Regions from separate parts of the Homo sapiens genome. Here region 2 is linked to region 1. The links are contacts of gene promoters, found by promoter capture Hi-C in human tissues and cell types (Jung and others, 2019). All regions are on one chromosome and are shown on one strand. Each heading gives the region's core, a stretch centred on a gene start or on the middle of the fragment in contact. The rest is flanking DNA. Distances are from core to core; before and after follow the strand shown. Region 1 holds the start of OR56B4 (olfactory receptor family 56 subfamily B member 4). Region 2 has its middle 29 kb from the start of OR56A1.

Evidence for each region. The method cuts DNA at HindIII sites, captures the fragments that hold promoters and counts their contacts. A contact is called where the count stands out against the background at its distance.
Region 2: a contact is called between a fragment that was not itself captured here and the fragment with the promoter of OR56B4 in region 1, in 1 of the 25 tissues and cell types used here (liver).

Annotation. Positions count from the first base shown.
Region 1 is chr11:6,105,308-6,110,379 of GRCh38, forward strand. OR56B4 (olfactory receptor family 56 subfamily B member 4) reads left to right here and starts at 2,377. Exons shown (of 1, transcript NM_001005181.2): 1 at 2,377-3,528. The coding sequence starts at 2,472. The coding sequence ends at 3,431. It overlaps LOC124902622 (a long non-coding RNA gene), which reads right to left. Exons shown (of 3, transcript XR_007062565.1): 2 at 4,957-5,041. The HindIII fragment of the contact is 6,854 bases long and covers 1-4,934 here.
Region 2 is chr11:6,057,353-6,062,424 of GRCh38, forward strand. It overlaps the pseudogene OR52L2P. Among named protein-coding and RNA genes, the nearest start is that of OR56A1, 29 kb to the left of the region's middle. The HindIII fragment of the contact is 6,047 bases long and covers 95-5,072 here.

The DNA of each region.
Region 1 (5,072 bases), core at 1,127-3,626:
GCAAAGGTGCAGAGAAAGGGGAATGTTTGTACACTGTTGGTGGGATTGTAAAGTAGTACAGCCATTATGGAAAACAATATGGAGGTTCGTCAAAAAAACTAAAAAGAGAACTACCATATGGTACAGCAACTTCACTGCTGGGTTTATATCCAAAAGAAAGGAAATCAGTAAATAGAAGAGATATCTGCACTGTCATGTTTATTGCAGCACTATTCACAATAGCGAACATATGGAATCAACCTAAGTGTTCATGAATGGATGAATGGATAAAGAAAATATGAGATATATAGAGAGAGATATATATAGATACATACACACTATATATACACACACTGTATATAGTATAGAGAGTGTATATATATATCCAATGTGATACGCACACACACACACAGTGGCCTATTATTCAGCCACAAAAAGGAATAAAATCCTGTCATTTGCAGAAACATGAATGGAACTGGAGGTTATTGTGTTAAGTGAAATAAATCAAGTAGAGAAAGACAAATATTACATGTTCCTACACATGTTTGGGAGCTTAAAAAGTGGATCTCAGCTGGGCACGGTGGCTCACGCCTGTAATCCCAGCACTTTGGGAGGCCAAGGCAGGCAGATCACCTGAGGTCAGGAGTTTGAGACCAGCCTCGCCAACATGGTGAAACCCCATCTCTACTAAAAATACAAAAATTAGCCGGGTGTGGTGGCACACACCTGTAATCCCAGCTACTCGGGAGGCTGAGGCAGGAGAATCGCTTGAACCTGGGAGGTGGAGTTTGCAGTGAGCCGGAAAAAGAAAAAAAGTGGATCTCACAGAAGTAATGAATAGAATGGTGGTTACCAGAGGCCGGAAAGGGTGGGGGTAGGGGAAGAATAGAGGGTGGCTGATGGGGACAAAAATACAGTTAGGTGGAAGAAATAAGTTCTAGTATTCAATAGCACAGTAGGAAAATTATAGTTAATAATTTACTGTATGTTTCAAAATCGCTAAAAGAGAATTGCAATGTTCCTAACACAAAGAAAAGATAAATGCTTGAGGTGATGGATATCCTAATTACACTGATTCGATCATTACACATTGTATACATGTATCAAAATATCACATGTACCTCCAAAATATCTACAAATATGATATATCAATTCTAAAAATACAAAAAAAAATCATTAAACTATAGGGCATCTAGGTGGTAGAAAATAATGCAACTTAACTGCAGTATGGAAATATGGAGCAGTCTTCAAAATATTAAGTTAAAAAAGAAAAGGAAAGAAAAAAGGAGAAAGGTGTGCTAACAATTGATTATGTCTTTTATGAAAATTATATATATATATATATATATATATATATGTTTTTATCCATGCATAAACTATTAATGGAAGGATTCCCAAGAAACATATTACTGGCTGCCTCTAGTGAAAAGGAAAAAGATTTCAAAGCCCCAAGCATGAGAGTCTTACTTTTCATTGTTTATATTTTTCATTTTATTTTGATTTTTACCATGTATAGATAATATATCTTAAAATAAAATCAAAATTATATTTAAAATTTTAAGACTATTATATCCTTTGTATATATAATTTTTGCATCACTTTTGAAACTCTACTCAAGGAAAACAATATTAAAAGCAAAATACCTGTCAGTAAATTATAGAATAGCCAAATGCAAAAATTTAAAGCAGCAATTAAAATTAACATCACACTTTTTAAATAATATTGTGAAGTCTTTGGTTAATGTATTCATCCATGAAATAAAATTTTTGAGTGCTTATATTACATCTTAACACATACTGCTAAAAGACAAAAACAAGATACAAAATCATCTCTAGATAATGATGTAGACTGTTTAAAAATAAAATAGAAAATTGGAAATAAATCAAATACTAACATTTGTTATCTGTTAGTGATAAGACTGTTGTTAATATATGTGGACATGCTTATTAGACATACAAGTGGTGATGAAAAATAGTTATTCCAACTCTTCTGTTTAGAATTTTTTTGCTTTTTTTGTTATTCCTCTGTGGAATATTTCCAGAAGTCAAATAAAGTTGAGGGTCATTCATGAATAAAAGGAGCTGGTTCATTATTGAGGAGCTCTTACCAAGACACTTAACTTTTTGTTTTGTTTTGTTTTTTAAGACAGGGTCTCACTCTGTTGTCCAGGCTGGGGTGCAGTGGCACAATCTCGGCTCACGGCAACCTCCGCCTCCCAGGTTCAATGATTCTCATGCCTCAGCCTCCCAAGTAGCTGGGATTACAGACAGGCACCACCACACCCAGCTAATTTTTGTATTCTCCGCAGAGATGAGATTTTGCCATGTTAGCCAGGTCAGTCTCGAGCTCCTGACCTCAAATTATCTGCCTGTCTCAGCCTCCCAAAGTGCTGGGATTACAGGCATGAACCACGATGCTCAGCCCCTTAGCTGAACTTTTAAACAGAGATTTCTTCTATTTCAGACAGACACTGAGACTGAGGCACCCATTCCATGGATACCTCCACCAGTGTTACCTATGACTCCAGCCTCCAGATTTCCCAGTTCATCCTGATGGGATTACCAGGCATTCATGAGTGGCAGCACTGGCTCTCCCTGCCCCTGACTCTGCTCTACCTCTTAGCTCTTGGTGCCAATCTCCTCATCATAATCACCATTCAACATGAGACCGTGCTACATGAACCCATGTACCATTTGCTGGGCATATTAGCAGTGGTGGACATTGGCCTGGCCACCACCATCATGCCCAAGATCCTGGCCATCTTCTGGTTTGATGCCAAGGCCATTAGCCTCCCCATGTGTTTTGCTCAGATCTATGCCATCCACTGCTTCTTCTGCATAGAGTCAGGCATCTTTCTCTGCATGGCAGTAGACAGATACATAGCCATCTGTCGCCCTCTTCAGTACCCCTCCATAGTCACTAAAGCTTTTGTCTTCAAAGCCACAGGGTTCATCATGCTCAGGAATGGCCTGTTGACCATCCCAGTGCCTATACTGGCTGCCCAGAGACACTACTGTTCCAGGAATGAAATCGAGCACTGCCTCTGCTCTAACTTGGGGGTTATCAGCCTGGCTTGTGATGACATCACTGTGAACAAATTTTACCAACTGATGCTAGCATGGGTCTTGGTTGGGAGTGATATGGCTCTGGTATTTTCTTCCTATGCTGTAATCCTTCACTCTGTGCTGAGGCTGAACTCAGCAGAAGCAATGTCCAAGGCTCTGAGCACTTGTAGCTCCCACCTCATCCTCATCCTCTTCCACACAGGTATCATTGTGCTGTCTGTCACACACCTTGCAGAGAAAAAGATTCCCCTTATTCCTGTGTTCCTTAATGTGCTGCACAATGTCATCCCCCCTGCACTCAACCCCCTGGCCTGTGCACTCAGGATGCACAAACTCAGACTGGGCTTTCAGAGACTGCTTGGACTGGGTCAGGACGTGTCCAAGTAACTCCAGCTTTAGGAATCCAGTAAGATGTTAGGAAATGACAGAGGTTTTAGTTCTCAATAGATCAGGGTTATAATCTGCACTTACCACACTCCCTAGGAAAAAAATGGCCAATAAAATCATGAAAACTGTCAGCCTCACTAATCAAAATATGTATATTAAAATTACAAGAAAATTTCCTATTACCTGGAAAATAAGTAAGAACAAAAAAGTGAAATGTTTCTAACTATTACTGCTAGCCTACCCCGAGATTAACACTTTCCTACACAACTGGTAGGACTATAAACACACCAAAAAGCAATTTGGTAAAATTTATCAAAATGTTTATAAATGTTTAAATGTTCTTAACCAGTAATTCTATTTTAGAAAAATATCCAAAAGAAATAGTCTAAATGCAGTCAAAAAGTTATTCATAAAAATCATTATAATATGACTAATAATAGAAAACAAAGCCTTTAATATTTACACATATTTAACTCTTACATATTTATGTGCTTTTCATATGTAATTTTTATAATAAAAAGTAAACAATAAATGTTTATTAAAAAGGAGTAAAGTTTAATTTTCGTACCCAAAAAAATCTCAATAATTAATGAATTAATGGTTAACAAGTGTTAAATACTTCTTGTAGGCCAGAAACTTTGATAAAATATGTATGTAGATTATCTGACTCAATTCTCACAATAACCCTTTGGGCAGGTACAATATTATTCCCAATTTCCAGCTAAGAAAACTCAGGCACTGGAAATTATAGAACTTGCCCCCTGACAGCACAGTTTCTAAGTGGGAGAGCTGGGATTCAAGTCCTGGGAAGTCTGATTGAAAAACCATAGCACTATTCTTACTCTCAGTCTTGCTCTGTTCCAAAATTTCTGTGTGAACTTGAACAACTTATGAAACCTCCCTATGTTTCAATTCTTCTGATTAAAAGTGACAAAAATCATAACATTTTGCTGAGCCAAATCGCAAACATGCTGTGACAATCAAAAGAGATAAAGAATACATGCTTTGAAATAAGATATACACATGGAAATATAAATCTAACTATGTGGCAGTTTTCTTGCTAGGAAAGGAAGAAAATGGATCCTAGAAAATGCCCTATAAAAATAGTTTCAAATAACCTGTTAATTAAAGCTAACTGAATTTTTGCTGTTTGCTCACCTAAAAAAATTGCACACTTTTTGAGTACAAGAACCATTCATGTGTACTTTCAATGAGCCTCAGTCAGAACATTGCACACAGTAGGTGCTTAATTCATTATATAATCAGGGAGCATTATAGATCTGTTGAATTATGTGTATCAAAGAAAATACCTGGACCATGGTCTGAATAATGACCTCAGGAAGTTTGCACATGAGTCCACCTTGGAAAACAACTTCTTAGGAAATAGCACAAGGACTAAAGCAACATCAGAAACCATCAGCTCATCTCACCAGAGTAATGCATGCTGGGCAGCATAACAGAGCTGCAGGGGGAAGTCATCTGTGTGCGGGACAGGACTTCTTAAGAGTTATGCTTGGAAACTTACCCAAAAAGAGACTATCAACTTCCTCCAAAAGAATTGGCTGCTTCATTCTTTCTTGACAGTGATTCAAATGGAAGCAACTGATCATCTAATAAGAGGAGGCAAGAGAGAGACAATTA
Region 2 (5,072 bases), core at 1,868-4,367, 47 kb before region 1:
AGAGGATTGAGTGCAGGTGGCACAAGGCGATACAGTATGGCCAGAAGAACATGGACGTGATGGGGTACATGATGACCAAAGCGGTGAGTGAGGAAGGAGAACATTCCCGGGATATAGAAGACCAGGATGACACAAACATGAGAGCCACATGTGCTAAACGCCTTAAGTCGGGCCTCATTTCCTGGTACCTTCAGCACTGCCTGGAGAATGTGGGCATAGGAAACACCAATGGCCAGGACATCCAGCCCAACCACAAGCAAGGCCACAGTCAGCCCATAAGCTCGATTGACTGTGGTTTCTGAGCAGGCAAGTTTCACAACAGCCATATGTTCACAATAGGCATGGCCTATGATGGTGGCTTGGCAGAAGATAAGTTTTCGCAACAGAATGAGGAAGGGGATGAGGAGTAGTAATCCCCGCACCAGCACCACCATTCCGATGTGCCCTATGACCCCTGGATGCAGGATCGTGGAATGGTGCAAGGGGTGACAAATGGCTACATAGCGATCCAGAGCCATGGCCACAAGTACCCCTGACTCCATGGAGGAGAATGCATGGGTGAAGAACATCTGGATCAGGCAGACAGTGTAACCAATCTCTTGGGCACGAACCAGGAGCACTGCAAGGGCTTTGGGTGCAGTGGAGGAGGCCACAACCAGGTCGATGGCAGCTAGCATGGACAGGAAGAGGTACATAGGTTGGTGCAAGGATGGGTCCATCCAGATGATGAAGAGAATGGTAACATTGCCCACTAGAGCAAGGAGGTAAAGGATGCCCAGGGGCAGTGCGATCCAGTGCTGGCTTTCCTCTAAACCCGGAATTCCTACCAGGAAAAAAGAAGGCTGGGGTAGCCTCCAGCTGGAATTGCTAAGCGCCATTATCAATGACTTGAGGAGGAAAGAGAAAAAAGAATCCAAATTCATGATTTCTGCATTTCTGGTACATTATCACATAGTCCAGATCACATTGTCTACCATCTTCATGAGAAGAATAAAGTGACTAAAACTGCAACCAAAGGGAATAAAGTTAGATACAAGAAAGAAAATCTTTGGTGGAGATAAATTTTTTTACAGGTGAGACATCCACATGTCTGAATTAGAATAGGTCTAGTTTTTTTAGAGATAAGAGTAAACATACACTGTTTTGGGAGAGATGCATAAGCTTTAACCATTCAGTTGCTTATGTTTTGAAGCTGCCAACTTCAAAGGGTTCTCTTTATTAGCCTCTTGGCGTTACTGAACACAGTAAATTAAACTGTTGTTTTTGAAATTAGCCTCCCTCAGTTTCCGTGAAGTGGCACTCTAGAGTTGTTTCTCCTATAGCCTCAGTCCCACCATTTTCTCCATCTCATTATGTTGTTGATTCCAGGGATCCATCCTCTCCTCTTTTCCCTATTCAGTACATTATCTCTGAATTGACCTCATCCACTTTCATAGTTTTATCTATCTACTTTTATTTCTTTCAAATCTGTGTTTCTAAGTCAAATATCTTTCTGAAACACAAATCATTCTTTCCATTTGCTTCCTGAATAGCTATACTATAGCCTCAACATATTCAAAACTAAATTAATTCATCTATCCTTCTTAAATCTGTCCTACCTACCTTTGGCAATATTTTTATGAATTACATTACTATCCATCTACCAAACCCAATCTAGAAACTCGGAAACTATCTTTACTTATTCTTATCTCTCATCCCTTTTCCCCATTCGCCAATTCCTGTTAACTGCATTTTTAACACATAGCTGTTATATCCACTCCTGTTTTCAACCCCCGATGTCAAACATCCAACTTCTCTCACCTGTACTGTTTCATTACATCTCTCTGCCTTTGCTGTAAACATCTTCCCAATTCACTCTCAACCTTAAAGTCAGGTTTTTCCTAAAATGCAGATGTCGTTATGTCGTGCCTATGGCTAAAATCCTTCAGTGAATCTATTGCATGGAATAAAATCATACTCTTAAGACTGCATTAAAGGTTTTCAAGGGTTATCTATTGTGTATTACTTTGGTCTTACAGTTAACATATTTCTACATGTATGTTTTACTAAACCATTCCAACATTCTTGGAGTTATATGACTAAACTCTCCTATTTTACATATGCCTTTTGTGTAGTCTTTCTTCCACTTCCTTTATCTGAATTGGTCTTCCTCACTCTTGAAAATTTAGAGTCTACTCTCTTCTGCTGCTCAAAAGGACTCATTGGCTGTGTTAGGTCAAGAGTGATTATGTCACGAGCACTGTATGTTATGATCCTTCTTTGTTCATCCATAACTTTCTTGCTTATCTCCATCATAGAAATCCTGTCAGCATCTTAATGGCTTGTTTTAAAGAACTGTATCTCATTACATGTCATGATTATAAGCTAGCATGGATGCTTCACAATGCAGTGTGATAAATACAAGCTTTGCGGGCAAAGTTTGTTAAAATTCTGTCCATTTCATATTCTAGGAATAAAATCTTGCTAGGCTTCTAAAACTCTCTAAGTCTTAATTTCCTTATTTCATATTAGAATAAATAATATTAATCTTAAATACTAAAAATTTTAACTAATGTATGTAAAGTCTTGATATATAGGTTACCTTATAAAGTATAGTCTATAAATTATAGTTCTTTTTTAATGTTACTAATAAAAGATGGCTATGAGCTCTTAGTCATCTTTTATTAAGTTGGTACAAAAGTAATTGTGATTTTTGCCGTTGAAAGTAATGGCAAATATTAATAGCAATATTATTAATGTTTAAAAAGATAACTATAATTACCTTTCCTTTCTTCTTTGTCTTCATGACTCTGCTTCTCTGATTCAAACTTTTGATATGTTTACCTGTCATCATGATGTTATAGCAATTCAGTGTCTCTGACACCCCACGTTAACATGAACTATTGAATAAACAGCTGTCTGTTTAACCTTCTCCATGGGATTCACCCCTCAAGTATTAAAATAAGAAACTTGCAACTGGTTACATTTGTGTCTGTATGTTTATCTTAAAAGACAGATGTAGTCTGAAACAACTATATTTTTCTTTGTTGGGGTGGTGGTTCGTGTACATGTACATGTGAAGATTTTTAAAAGTCAAGAATGACTCAGTTCTTGTGGATTATGCATCTATAGATCACTCAGTGTGTCTTTTTTACAAATCAATAATGTTTGGGAACTATCATATTGCCCCCAAACTCTCAATATAACAACTATAAGTTCTGAAATTCTAGGTGGGCATATGTCTCCCAGCCTTTGTCTTTCTTCAAGAGTCAACTTAAAATAATGATGACATTTTTATTGAGACTTCCAGGGGAATCTTATACTCTTGCAAAAAAAAAAAAAAAAATCACCTTTCAGTGCTTAATATTCCACATACTGAGGAAGTTAATTCTCTTTCTTAGCTACTCCCCTTCTGTTACAACCATCAGCTCATTTCTCATTTTATAGCTGAGAAGTTGAAGAACAGGTATGTGTTTGTGGAAGGCACCCGTGGCTTTAATAGAAACAGTGTGCATAAAGCAGTGAGACTGAAACCGTACTACAGAAGGTGAAGCAGAGGGGCAGAGACACGAACCTGAATATAATCTGCTTCTTTTTTATGCTGCATGGCTTGTGAGACTAGAGCAAAAGCCTACATCTGCTTATTAAGCACTAATTATTAAAGTAAATAGGAGATCCCTCTGTGATTCTTAGAAGAAAAGCAGAAGGGACTTTATTCCCAAGAACCTAAAAGTGAAGCTCTATTTAGTTCTCCAACCAGAAAGCAGGGGACAATTAGCGAAGAGCTGATGCTGTTGAACTACTACTTATTCATCTACATTCAATCTAAGCAACCTATCTTCTGTGAAGTTGTGCTTGAATTCTGTAAGACAGCATAATGTGTCTCCTTTTCTTTCCCTTTGTGATGTCTTTACCACTTTGTCATTGCATTGATGACCTTGCACTTTAAAAAGCAGGGACTATGCCTTGCTTATTGCAGCAGCCCCAGGGCAAGCTCCAGAAGCACCTAGAATCCAGTCGGTAATCAGTAATGTTGGTTGAATAAATATCCATATGATTAGATTAAATAATAAATAAATAAGTGTATGAGTGTCTTAAAAGGCTGAAGATTATGAAAATTTGATAAGGCAGAGACTGAATTTAAGTAAAGGAATAAAGTAGCAGACACTGGGTTGCCGTCTGAGGGGATTACTGATTGAGTGTTGACAGTCCTCACCTTAAGTGATGCTCTGGGTGCTTCATGGCAGAAAGATCCCTGCTGATTCATCACTATCTCGCATGCAAAGAAGTGATAAAGAAATCCTAGATGTGTCAGAAATAAGGGGATTCCTGTGGTCACTGGTAGTCACTTCTGCTCCTAGCAGGCAGGGAGGCCTCTATGGGATGTGACTTGTCTCTCTCTCTCTTTAATCTCTTTCTCAGCAGTGATCTGGACTCTATGATAGTCGGGAGGAAAGGAGACAAGAACCTAGGCAGAAAAAGAGCAGTGGAGGACACAGAAATAGTGGGTCCATGATAATGACCTAATAAGAGAGGAAGATACAGAAATCAAGCACTAAGAGGCAGAGCTTCACTGCACAAATCGGAGACACATAGATAATCAATAAAGTAAGCCTGGCAAAGGGCACTGTCCTACTGGTCTCTGGATTGTCTTTGAGGATGTGCCCTTTAAAGTCTTGGGTCAACCTGGAGGGAGACTCAGCAGCACAAAGAAAACTAGGAAAGGGAGAAAATTCCCAGATTCAGGAAGGTTCTGTTATAGCCCTCCCTGCTCATCTCCAGGAACACCCTGAGTCCTCTGTTCAACCTCCACAATGGTCTTCTGCCTTAGCTTATGTGTAACAATGATAAAGAGGACTTTCTCTTCAGAAGGGCTGCACAGCAGTCTCTGAATGCCAAAGAGGACATCAAATGCATCCCTCGAGGTCTGTACAGCTAAAGTTTCCCAAAGATATGAAACATGAGTACTAGCTTTGGCAACACATGGGTAAACTGTATCTACATGCATGATATTTGATGGTGAGGATGCCACCTAGGACCATGCTAAATGGTCCTGTGAATGCCTCAGGCTGATCATGAAGGCTTAAAGAGAT